Regions from separate parts of the Homo sapiens genome. Here all the other regions are linked to region 2. Evidence: promoter capture Hi-C in human tissues and cell types (Jung and others, 2019). All regions are on one chromosome and are shown on one strand. The core of a region is centred on a gene start or on the middle of the fragment in contact, and the rest is flanking DNA. Distances in the headings are between cores, read along the strand shown.

Evidence for each region. The method cuts DNA at HindIII sites, captures the fragments that hold promoters and counts their contacts. A contact is called where the count stands out against the background at its distance.
Region 1: a contact is called between a fragment that was not itself captured here and the fragment with the promoter of C21orf58 in region 2, in 1 of the 25 tissues and cell types used here (lymphoblastoid cells).
Region 3: a contact is called between the fragment with the promoter of PTTG1IP here and the fragment with the promoter of C21orf58 in region 2, in 1 of the 25 tissues and cell types used here (lymphoblastoid cells).
Region 4: a contact is called between the fragment with the promoter of TRPM2 here and the fragment with the promoter of C21orf58 in region 2, in 1 of the 25 tissues and cell types used here (dorsolateral prefrontal cortex).

What each region holds. Positions count from the first base shown.
Region 1 is chr21:45,085,274-45,088,119 of GRCh38, reverse strand. All of the region lies in intron 1 of ADARB1 (adenosine deaminase RNA specific B1), which reads right to left. Among named protein-coding and RNA genes, the nearest start is that of ADARB1, 12 kb to the right of the region's middle. The HindIII fragment of the contact is 5,819 bases long and covers 1-2,846 here.
Region 2 is chr21:46,322,260-46,325,123 of GRCh38, reverse strand. C21orf58 (chromosome 21 open reading frame 58) reads left to right here and starts at 1,254. Exons shown (of 8, transcript NM_058180.5): 1 at 1,254-2,485. The coding sequence starts at 2,386. It overlaps PCNT (pericentrin), which reads right to left and starts at 968. Exons shown (of 47, transcript NM_006031.6): 1 at 842-968. The coding sequence starts at 895. RefSeq lists silencers at 176-635, 906-1,235 and an enhancer at 1,586-1,725. The HindIII fragment of the contact is 24,092 bases long and covers 1-2,864 here.
Region 3 is chr21:44,872,136-44,875,035 of GRCh38, reverse strand. It overlaps PTTG1IP (PTTG1 interacting protein), which reads left to right and starts at 1,346. Exons shown (of 6, transcript NM_004339.4): 1 at 1,346-1,534. The coding sequence starts at 1,420. RefSeq lists enhancers at 389-1,066, 1,224-1,724, 1,725-2,225 and a silencer at 983-1,632. The HindIII fragment of the contact is 14,261 bases long and covers 1-2,900 here.
Region 4 is chr21:44,351,901-44,355,019 of GRCh38, reverse strand. It overlaps TRPM2 (transient receptor potential cation channel subfamily M member 2), which reads right to left and starts at 1,399. Exons shown (of 32, transcript NM_003307.4): 1 at 1,155-1,399; 2 at 284-372. The coding sequence starts at 1,319. RefSeq lists enhancers at 924-973, 1,134-1,183. The HindIII fragment of the contact is 21,861 bases long and covers 1-3,119 here.

The sequences.
Region 1 (2,846 bases), core at 326-2,825, 1.2 Mb after region 2:
CTGTACATGCATCTATTAAAGACCACAGAGTCACACTGACACCTATCCCAATCCAACAGCACGGCCTCCCTCTGCCATCTTCCTTTTGCTATTTGTAACTTCTTCCTGGGACAGTGAGAAACCTGGCTCTCATTATCCACTACGATTCTGCTTATTTGTTCAATCCCCACATACACATAAAGTCGTTTCACATTGCTCACCATTAACACTGAGAAAAAAATTTACTACTATTTTGTACAGTTCTCTTCAGCCTCACAGAATCCAGTCAACATTATCATTTTCCCAAATAAGGTTAACACTTTCCTTTCCACCCCCTTTGCTGTGGCCCTGCCGCTTTGTACTACAGTGAGATGTGTGTTTTCCGCTTATATTTCATTTTGGGTCCCCCACATCCTGGCTGATATTAACCATCTATTTTACTTTGGAGTATATGAAGTATTGCTGTGGTTTCAAGAGCTGGGCCACACTAAAAGGTGTACTGAGAGCAGCACTGCACCCCACCTATGACCTGGCACCCACTCCACTTCCCTGCCCCCTCGCCCTCTGCACCCCACCTATGACCTGGCACCCACTCCTCCTCCGTCCCCTGGCCCTCTGCAGTCACCATCTCTTTTGTTTCTGGCTCTGCCCTCCTGTATCTCCTCTGCACAAGTGTGCAGGGAGCGTGTGTCTTCCTGCATCCCCTTCTTCTCACATCAAGGGCAGCATTTAGATGTTCTTTGGTACTTGCCTCATTCACATCCACGTGCCCTGGAAACCACCTCAAACCAATTCACAGAGGTCATCCTCAACAGTGGATGTGGTTGTGTGGCTGTACTAGAGTTTACTCAACCCTCTCCTGCATATGGATATTTAGGTTATTCCGAATGTATTTTCACATTGTTGGAGGTCTATCTTCTGGAAGGATTCCTAGAAGCAGAATTGCTGGGTCAAAGGGTAAGTGTTTCTGTGGTGTTGTAGGCTGAATGTGGTTTTAATATGCCCAACCGTACTTCACCGACTTCCTCTTCTGATAAGTGGGGGGAAAACATCAAACACCCGGTAAGAACTCATCTGCTGAGGACCTAATAGTGTGCACAACACAGGTGGTCAGCTTAAGAAATGCTAATAGCTTCTGCTCGACATTATAACCATATTTCATCCTATAGTAGGCTCATACAATTCAAGAAGCACAATGCACATCACAGAGACAGACTTCAAGAGCAAGCCAAATAAATGGCCCTTGCTAGCATTATCAGTATCAAACAAAGGCTTCTGTCTTAAACTCCATTTCGAAGCTCCTACGAACTCCTAGGAATCTACCTATGACAAATGAAAATACACATCCACACGCAGACATGCTTGCTAATGTTCAAAGTCACGTGATTCATAATAGCCAGAATGCAGAAACAACCCAAAGTCCATCGCTGGAGTGGAATAAACGAACACGCTACGCCAATACGACTAAAAGGAACAAATTACTGATATGTTCTACAACACACGGATGAACCCGAAAAACATGTTAAGTGAAAGCCTGATGCAAACGATGACACAGGACATGAGCTGCTTCCCATGAAATATCTGCAAGGCACATGTGGAAACAGCAGGCAGGCTGCCTGAGCGGTTGCCTGAGGCTGGGCTGGGTGCGCGAATCAACTGCAGACAAGCACAGGGAACATTTGAGGTGACAGGAGTGTTCAAGAACTAGACAGTGGTGATGTCTGCACAACTCAGACATTCAGAAAATCACTGAATTGTCCTCTTAGAGAGGGTGCATTTCATGGCAGCTGTTTAAAACAAAACAAAACCGCCTCAAAATGCCTTTCCTATGGTTTATTTTCTCCCCGTATTTTCCCAGAGCATTCTAAAAAGGTGAAGACTCAAAGCATTATTTGATCATAACTTGCAATTTGCATTGTTTCCTTCAACAATCAATAAGCCCAGGAAATCATCTAGACAAATTCTCAATGCAGTGTGAAAAGGCACACAGGGCAGGTCTTCTGTCCAACAGCACCGCCCTATCCCGGCTTCACACATAGCAAGCAGTGTCTGGCAAATCAAAGCCTGCCTTTTCCATTCTACACCGTAGCTCAAAATCATTGTCCAGGAAAGGAAAAAACCTTCCTTTTCCTACAGCAAGGGCTTCCAGCAATAAACAGAACTAAAATCTATCAGGCACTTCTTGCCTGTGCCACACATAACACGTGCCTATGGCTGATTCGTGCATGGAGAATTCAAGGTGAGCTGCACGGGAGGCTCTATGTCAGTTCTGCGTGAGAGGCACATGCTCAATGACGTCCTTTAGGTTCATGTGACACCAGCCTTTTCTGTGTCAACAGAATCAATTCCTCACAGTTTCATTAGAGGGATAAAATTAAAGAATTGAAAGCTTCACTATGTAACAAGATAAATATGTCACTCATTCACCTGCATGTGGGTGAAAACATCTACTACGTGACAACAAAAAGTGCAGAGGGAAAAAATTCCAGAGTAGAAGTTAGAAGATGTCACTTTTAACCCTGCTCTGCTCCTGGGTACATACATACATAGTATGTAAAGGACTCAAATTCAAAATGACCAAGACTAATAAATATGCATTTGATGTGACTACTTTCATTCATATCGAGAATGGAGTAGACGTAAAGAGTCCAATCATTGCTGTTTAACTGCAGCCACGGCGCTGAAGTTTCTGGAAACTGTAACCTCTGTTTAAATCGACTTCACACTATTTATGCTTAGGTCTAAACCAAGTGAAATGTGTAGATTAACACTAAGTAGTAAGTGTTTTCCACCATTCTTCATGTAGAGGTCAGAGGTCACGTCTGTAGCTCCCCAGCATCTTTTGAATCTCCTCTCTCTACCTGGGG
Region 2 (2,864 bases), core at 5-2,504:
TTTATTCCCACGAAACCTAGGACAGTGGCCATCAAACCGAGCGCTTTTTCACGGAGAAACCCGGGGCGGGAGAAAGACGGGAGCGCGTCCCTTGAAGGCGCCCGGCGCCAGCGCCGCGTGGGTTCCCGGCAGCGTACGCCAGGCCCGGACGGGCAGGACGCGAGCCCAAGGGCGCGGGAAGAAGACGGCGGCCGGGAGCGCCGCGGGGGCCTTTCACACAGTAAGGACTGCAACGCCGCGAGAAACGCGCGGGGAAAGCATCTCCGACGGACGAGGCGAAGGCGCACCCTGGGGAGGCGCTGCAGGCCACCCGCGCCACGCCCCCGGCCCCGGCCGCGCAGGAAACTGGCCCTAGACCAAGCAGCCACCCGAATACCGGCCGCCCGCCCCAGGCCACCCGGTCCCGGAGGACGCGGGAGCCACTGGAAGATCCAGCCTGGGGTCCAGCGCCTGCCGCGCCCCACCCCCTCCGTGCAGCCACGCCACGCCCCTGTAGCCCCGCCCTGCAGCCACACCCCGCCCCGGCGTGCACCGCGCCCAGCCCGCGCCCCACCCCCCCCGACGCAGGCGCAGCCCCGCCCCGGCCCGCCCGAGAGGCGCCGCGCGTCCCGGCCGCTGATTGGCTGTGGCCGCGGCGGGGGCGGGACCTGGCGGAGAGCGGCGGATTCAAGATGGCGGCGGCCAGGAGGCGGCTTCCAGCGGAGCCGGCGGGAAAAAGCGAGACCTCCGCGGCGGCTTCCGCCGGACCGCGTCCTCTCCTGGCAGGGGGCGGTGGCGGGCACCGGAGCCGCCCTTAGGACTTCACGCCAGAGCAGCTAGAGAAGAAGCCCCTAATGTTTACCTTCGTCCTCCCGGCCTCCACCTTTCTGCGCCGCTGCTCTTGCTCAACTTCCATCTCCCTCAGACTCCGCGCGGGCCGCCCGGCGGTGACGGGGCTGACACAGAGCAGCCTTCGCTCTATTTACACTCCCTCCCCCGCGCTTGGGCTCGCCCTCCCCCCGCGACAACTGTCACGCAGCCGCGGCCCCGCCCCCGACACGCGCCGCCAATCAGGGGGCTGCGTTTCCGGTCTCGCGCACGCGCGCTCTGGGCGGTGCAGCCTGGGCGGAGCCCCGCCCTTTACGCTCGCCGGCCACAGATTGGTGCGCTCACGTACCCGCCTCCTACGGCAGGACCAGTAAGCGGAAAGCGGAGGCCTGGCGCCCGCTGTGATTGGCCGATTTTAAAATCCCCTGCCAGGCTGGCCGAGCGGCAAAAAGTTCGCGCTGCTGGTCCCGCGCGGGCGGCCCCTGGGCTTTGTGTCCACCAGGACAGCGGGCCGGGCTCCCTGCAGGCGCGGGCGGCGCCGAACGGTGCTCAGCAACCACCCGGACAGGGCCAGGCCGTTTTCTCCCGCTCAGGCATTAGTCGTTGGCTGTGGGCCGCCGCGGGAAGTTGAGGCCTACCACGGAGGAGGCTGCTGAGGTGGATCTCAGGGGATCCGCAAGGGCTCCCTCACCCTTGCCGGGACCCTGGGAACCCGAAACAAAATCCTACGCCACCAGCCCGCCGAATGCGCCCCCTCGGCCGGGGGTCCTGGGTCTTCAGAGAAGAACTCGGCCGAATGCGGTCAGAAAGCCCGCGAACCGCCTGGACCTGCAGGCCCCGCCGCTTGGAGCTCCCGCCTTTCCCGACCGAGCCCGTGTCTGCTCGTGTGTCTCACTGATGTCTTAGGTCTCAAAAAAAAAAGAAAAGAAAAGGTTTTTAGTAGACAGAAGAGAAATGGGGCCGTGGGTTCGTGGTCCCAGGGGGAAACTGACGTCGCATGAGGTCGTCGTCCCTCAGCTTGAGCTCAGCGGAACATAAGCTTGCAGAGGTGGAAACCACGGAAGGTTTGGGTGTCTTGGAGCTCTCTGGACACCGAAGCCCGGACACAGTCCCGGGGTCCGCACCGCCTGTGACCTGTGGCGGGACCGCCGGGGTGGGCGTTTTCTCAGCTGGCGCGCGCGTAGGTGGAACTTGGGAAACTAACTGGAGCGAAGTGGCAAAAAACCAAGACAGGGCCGGTGACCTCGCGCAGGCCGTCCTTAACTGTGGAGTATTCCTTCAGCTAACCCCTTTATTTCATGTGTCCAAGTCTGGTTTCTGGGTTTCTTTGTAGTCCTCCGGGCCTGTTCGTGCGCCTTCACTTGCAAAAGGTTCGTCGTGGAGGGCCGTGTGCTTGTTTGCAGCAGTAACGATGCCCTTCCCGAGCGTGCTGGAGTGGCTCCTCGCTGACGCAAGCTCACCTTGCAGCCTCCTCAGCAACTGCAACTTAAACGCGCCCTCAGGAAGCCCTGGAATCTCGCTCAGAATTTTTTTTCTTTTTTTGAGACAGTCTCGCTGCGACGCCCAGGCTATAGCGCAATGGCGCGATCTCGGCTCCCTGCAACCTCCCTCAGGAAGCCGTGGAAGCTCGACCGCCAGAAACTTCCTTCTCCTGACTCAGGCCACAGTCTTCTGTGTGGTGAGCGGGGTGTCCAGCGGTCTCCTGGTTCCCAGACTCGGAATTGGGTGGTTTGAGCAAACTCTGGGCAGTGGGCTCATTAGAGCAGGGGCCAGGCAGGCAACACAGCCAAGCGAGCAGGGGCTGCACCCACAGGATCACACTTTCCAGGAACAGAGACCCAGACCGCGCCTGAATCTCACAACTGTTACGTGTTACAATACATTTACAACTGTGGGACTGAGGGGATGTGCCCAGGTTTGCCTAGACTGTGTTCCTCAGAACCCCAGAGTCGTTTCTGTGGACATCCTAGAGAGGTTCTGCTAATGTTGGACTTGGGTCTTATTTCAGTTCTTTTTTCTTTTCTTTTTTATAGGCAGGGTCTCAGTCTGTCACACAG
Region 3 (2,900 bases), core at 97-2,596, 1.5 Mb after region 2:
CGAGTGCCAGAGAAGTGGCTCGGATCACAAGAGGCTGGCTTCGGAGCCATCTGCAGGCGCCCAAATCCCAACCTAAAATCACCACAGGGTCAGAATCTAATGTAAGGGGGGGTTATTCAAAGGCAGTTGGAGGCTGGCCCACCCGGAAACACCGGCTCCAGAGGAATGGAGTCCGCCCTCGGAAGCGGGGAGGGGAAGGGTGCCCTCGGGCAGGCAGAGGCGGAGGCTTTTAGCAGGACCGCGGCGTCCTTCCTACGAGGTGGGCGCAGTCCTCGCGTTTGATGGACGACGGGCAGTGCCTGCTTCAGGGAAGGGTGCGGCAGTCACGGTTTCCCGTCTTCTGGTCTAAGCAGTGCAGAAAACAGGGAAGTTCATCTACAAGGGTCATGAACTAAGAAGGCAGGAGGTTTCTGTCCCCGGCACCGGCGAATCCCGGACCCGAGAAAGGAGCTACGGGCGCACAGAAGCGGGCGGCCCCGGCTCTCGCGGGGCTTAAAGCGCGCAGTGTGTTCGGGTTCACACCTCTAAATGTATTTTTGCCATTTCTTAAGTAGCCTTAAAAATGTCCGTCACTATTTAGTCCTTTTATCAACCGAGGGGCCCGGAAGGCCGCAGCGAGGGCGTCGGCGAGAAGCCATGGAGGAGAAACGGCGCTTCTCTCGGGAGTTTAGGTGGCAGCTTCAGCAGCACACGTTTCAGCCCATTCTGGGGCCGTTTCTAGTGTGGTTAACGTACAAAAATAAACAAATCCCCTAAAAGTCCCACGCGGACATCGGCGGGAGCCCAGGGCCGGACGCCGCGGTGTGGAGCGAGGGCGCCGGCGCGGACTATGAGGGCCCACCGCGCCTCGTCCAGGGCTCACTTAAGAGCAGCGTGAGCAGCGCTTGGGACCGCCGTCCGGGACGCCCGCAGCCCTTTAGGATGGAGGCCACCGTGACCTCCGCCACCGAAGCACCGCGCTCCCCTAGTCCCCTCAGCCGGTCGCCGTTCCCCGCCGCGCAGGCGCAGGAGCCGCGGCGAGCCCCTCGGTCACGCCTCGCCCCTCGGTCACGCCTCGCCCCTCGGTCACGCCTCGCCCCTCGGTCACGCCTCGCCCCTCGGTCACGCCTCGCCCCTCGGTCACGCCTCGCCCATCCGCGCCGCGCAGGCGCACTGAGCCTCAGCCGCTCTCCTCGCTACCAGGCTCCTTTCCTCTATCGCGCAGGCGCACTGAACCTCAGCCGCGCCGGGAGGCGAGCCCGTTGGCGAGGGGCGGGGCAGATGGCGAGGGAGCGGGGCGAGCTGCTTTTTGAGGCTGCGCACTCGCATGGCCCCACCTCGCAGGTCCACTTCCGGCGCCGCGGCTGTTCCGGGCGGAGACCGCTTGTGCTGGAGTCGGAGTTGTAACGCTCCACTGACTGATAGAGCGACCGGCCGACCATGGCGCCCGGAGTGGCCCGCGGGCCGACGCCGTACTGGAGGTTGCGCCTCGGTGGCGCCGCGCTGCTCCTGCTGCTCATCCCGGTGGCCGCCGCGCAGGAGCCTCCCGGAGCTGGTGAGGGCGCCGGGGCGGGCGGGGCCGCGAAGGGGGCGGGGCGGCTGGTGGGTCCAGGTCGGGGTCGGGGTCGGGGTTTCGGCCAGGGCGCTGGGCTCGGCGGGCGGCCTGGGCCCACGGTCGCAGGCAGCGCCCCGACGGAGGCTCCTCGAGGGTCACGCCCGTTTGGCGGCCGCGGGAGCTGCCGTCGCGGCTGGGGCGCGGGCAGGGGAAGAGCCGTCTTTGTCTTTGTCTTTGTTTTGTCCAGTCGCTGCGGCCGCTCCTCGCGCGTGGCCTCGGGTTGGCCCTCGCCCGGCAGGCGGGACGCTTGGCACCTGCGGCCTCCCTTAGCCTCACTGCGACCCCAAACAGCACTCCTCGGGTTCGATCCCGAGCCGGGAAGCCGGCTCACGACGTGTTCGAGGTCGCACAGCTGGTCGGGGGCAGGCCGGGATGGCGGCCGCAGGCCCCTGCAGGGTGATGGGGCCGCGGCCGGTGTGTCTCTACAGCCGCCGGCGTTCACGCCGCCACTCCCTCCCGGCCGCAGTTCCACGCACAGCAGCGAACGCTCGCACTTATGCCTTAGAAAGGAAGGCGTCCCCAAAGCCAGGCTGTAGCATCTGATTTTGAAGCAAGCTGATTGCGGTTCTACGCTGTCCAGACGCGCAGGTGGCATTCTTCATCGTTTATCCCGTCTGCACCAGGCCCTGCGGCCACAGTGGTGACCGACAGCCAGAGCTCCTATCCAAGAGGAGCTGAGTCCCCGGGAGGCTGACCAAGAAAGAAGCAGTGAGGGCGCGGGGGCTGGGGGAGGAAAGTGCATGACAGGAGACTCAGAGTTCCAGAAACCGGCAGTGTTTATAGAGGGTGGCTTCCTGTGGGGCTGGGCCTCCAGGGCCTGGTGGGCTGCGGGAAAATCCAGCAGGTTCTAAGCTGGAGAGTGTCATGGTTGGACCTGTTTCACAATGTCATGCTGGCTTCCGTGTGTGGAGTTTCCAGGTGACCACTAGTGGTGGGGAATAGTGCCACCTTAACTTCAGTTTCCTGACCCTTACAATTAGGGTTGACCTGGGCCCAGCTTGAGGGGCTAATACTTTTCTCAGCTCTTGTTAGCCCAGGCTCTGTCAGTGTCTGTTTAGCATAGTAGAGCACCTTTTCTTTTTGTGACCTTATGGAATGTTTATTCCGATGCAGGATTATTTGTGTTTCTTCTTACCTGCCTCCAAGTGTGCTTAGGGTTTGTGACGTTAGCAATGCAGCTGCCTTGAAGTTTGTTAGTCAAGGAGGCCAGTGGGACTGTACTGGGAACTTTTGGCCCAGATTGAGTTCTAAGCGCAAATGTGCAGTGAATACGTTTCCACAAACAGAATGGGCGTCTGCAGGCAGA
Region 4 (3,119 bases), core at 150-2,649, 2.0 Mb after region 2:
TGGGCCTCGCCGCGCGACAGTGCCCTTATGACCCTGAACAAGTCACCTAAACTCTGCACTTTGGTCCCTGCACCTGCGAGGCAGGATGAGGGTCAACTGTCCCCGACAGGAGGCTTGCAAGGGTTAGGTGGAAATGCTCTGTGGACTCTAAGCCTCGTATGGAGACAGAGGTATCTCCAGTGACCCTTCACTGAGGCCCTGAGGGGTCTTGGCCTGATCAGCTACTCCATGTGGGATCGGAAGGAAGAAGTCAGAGGTCTTACACACAAATCACGTCACTTACCCAGCATCAGACAGTTTGGAACTTTCCACAAAATACACGCATTCTTTCTTCTTGATGTTTTCAGGAATCCACGAACTGAGGCTTTCTTGCTGAAGGTAAAGACAGCACACTGAGATCTTCCAACATTCGAAAGAGCACACCCAGCCCCCTGGAGACACATCTGAGCTCCTTGAGGAGCTTTCACACTATTTGCTTGAAGGAAGGAAGCCTGCGCGACCCTGAGCCAAAGATTAGAAGCACCTTGCCAAGACTCTCCGGTGGGGATTCAGGAGGGAGGAATGAATCTAAGAAATCATTTCCTCTTGGGACCATTTTGAATGTGCGCGCACTTTACAGTTTCTACAGCACCACCACCTTCCTTGGGAACAACATGGTGTGGTGGAAAACGTGGAGGCTGGGGATCTGGGGACCTGGATCTTGCACCATCGGAAAAAGGGCAGCCACCCTCCTGCCTGCCTGGCAAGGGGACTGCAAGATGCCATGTGCTTTCAACATACTTGTGTCTTTGTATCCAGGGCTTTGGGGAAAGCTAGCCCAGGCCCAGGCCCTCCCAATCGGATAAAGGATGTGAAATCATTATGCAACAAGGTAAGCACGGGTAACAGATTTCCAGGACTCTAGCGCAACATTTTTGAGTTAACCCGGTGATTTCCCAATCAGACCAACCATGGGAAATGGTCATGCAACCCACAGAAGACGAGACACGCATCACCCTCCCCAGTTCTGTTCTCCCAAAGGTATGGTTGGGCAGGAGCCCCCAAGGTCAGCAGACCCTTTCCCACCCCCGTCGTCACAGCCTCAAGCTATGACCTGCCCAACGGTGACCTCCGTGGCCACGTGCCAACTGCAGGCTGACCAGCAGAAAGCCTACCTTGTCATTGTTGCCGAAGGGGCACTGTAGCCTCCAGCTCTTGAAGAGGCTGCTGTTGCTGCGCCGGAGATTGGAGACCATCCCCAGGTCAGTGACCCTTCTGGGCAGCCCCTCAAAGCCCTCCTCCTGCTCCGAGCCAGCTTTCCTCAGGGCTGAGGGCTCCATTCTGAGACCCCCACGCCAGCTGCAACCAGGCCTGCTGCCCTCAGGACAGTCCTCTCTCCAGCTCGCTACACTGGGGTTCTAGAGACACATGGGGTGGTTGCTGAAATAGATCAGAGACAGGAAGATGAGGCTGATGTTCTGAGAGGACCTGGCCACATGCTTCCTCATGTGAAGCCCTCATCCGGTTCTCTTCATCAGCCTGCACATGTTCCCAGCTGCCTGAGCTGTGTCCCTTGGCTGGGGCCCCCGGACACTCTGGGGGAGTACATGCACATGCGGGGGTCCCAGCGGCCGTTCATAATGGTAACAACCTCAGGTGACTGCAGGGCCAGAGAAAGAGCTCCCTCCCCCACGGGTGCAGCTGCACTGAGCACCGCACAGGGAAGTCTCCACCGCCAGCACCAGCTGCCAGCGACATGGTTTCGCAACTGTACAATTCTGCACAGCTCCTGCTTCCAGACACCAGTGACTACTTTCATATTCCAAAATTTTTTTAAATAGCCCTCACTGTCCACAAAGGAAGTTTCTTTTTCTTCTTGTTTTTTGAGACGGAGTCCCACTTTGTCGCTCAGGCTGGAGTTCAGTGACGCAGTCTCGGCTCACTGCAACCTCGGTCTCCCTGGTTCAAGTGATTCTCCTGCCTTAGCCTCCCCAGTAGCTGGGATTATGGGCGCCAATCACCACACCCTGCTAATTTTTTTTGTATGTAGTAGCAACAGGGTTTCACCATGTTGGTCAGGTTGGTCTCAAACTCCTGACCTCAGGCGATCCACCAGCCTCCGCTTCCCAAAGTGCTGGTTTTACAGGCGTGAGCCACTGTGCCCAGCCTAGAAAGGAAGTTTTGGGGAGTACCACATCTCTCCACTCCAGGAAAAAGACAATAATTCAAATGAATCTTTTTCTCTCATATCCTTTCCCCCTGGCTCTGATGTGGCCTTCATCACCGAGGCCACAAGAAGCCACCGGATGACTGCCCTCCCTTTACAAATGAGAAACATAAGCATGTTCAAGCCCTGCGGGGCCTCCCTGAGTCCCTGACACCCACAGTGTTCTCATGAGGTCATCCATGGTCATCCCCTGCCACTGCCCCAAAGGTGTCAAGGGGAGGGTTGCTGGGATGCAAAAGATCTGACTGGAATCCCCCCTCATCCCTGCCCTGAAACCAGATCTCTGGCCACGTCCTCTCCACTACACACGACGGTCACTGTCAGACAAGCCTTTGCTCTGCCGTCCCCTCATCACATTAGGTGACTGAGCCCCTCTTCGGGGCCACGCAGCTCGAAGCTCGGTGCCGGGCTCTTGGGGCTGAGCTACGGGCTGCTGTCCTGGGGCGGGCACTCTCAGGCAACCCCACCTCCCCCTCTCCCTCCTCCCCTTTGCCCCTTGGCCACACTCATTCCGAGACCCGTAAACTTCACTGGCAGGATGGCAGGGGTGCCCTGCCCGGCCTTTTCCTGCAGTTCTCAGAGCAGATGTTGTGCCGCATGCCAGTGGGGTCTTTCCAGGGCCATGAGCTGTCCCCGCAGCCACTGGCCCGGCTTCACAACCAGCTTCCGAGGGAAGCAGAGGGGCAGAGATGTCCCCAGTGGCAGGAGGAAGAGGAGGCTCTAGAGAGATCGCAGTGGCACCGCAAGGGGACCCAGACTGCAGGTGGCTCCCCAGGCAGGCGGTCCACCCTGCACGGGATGAGGATGGCTCCACGCTGGAAACGAAGACCCCAGCATCAGACGGGAGGGTCCACGGTGTGGGACTCTCTGCCTTAAGACCAGCATGTTCTGTTCACACGCTCATCTTTCAGGC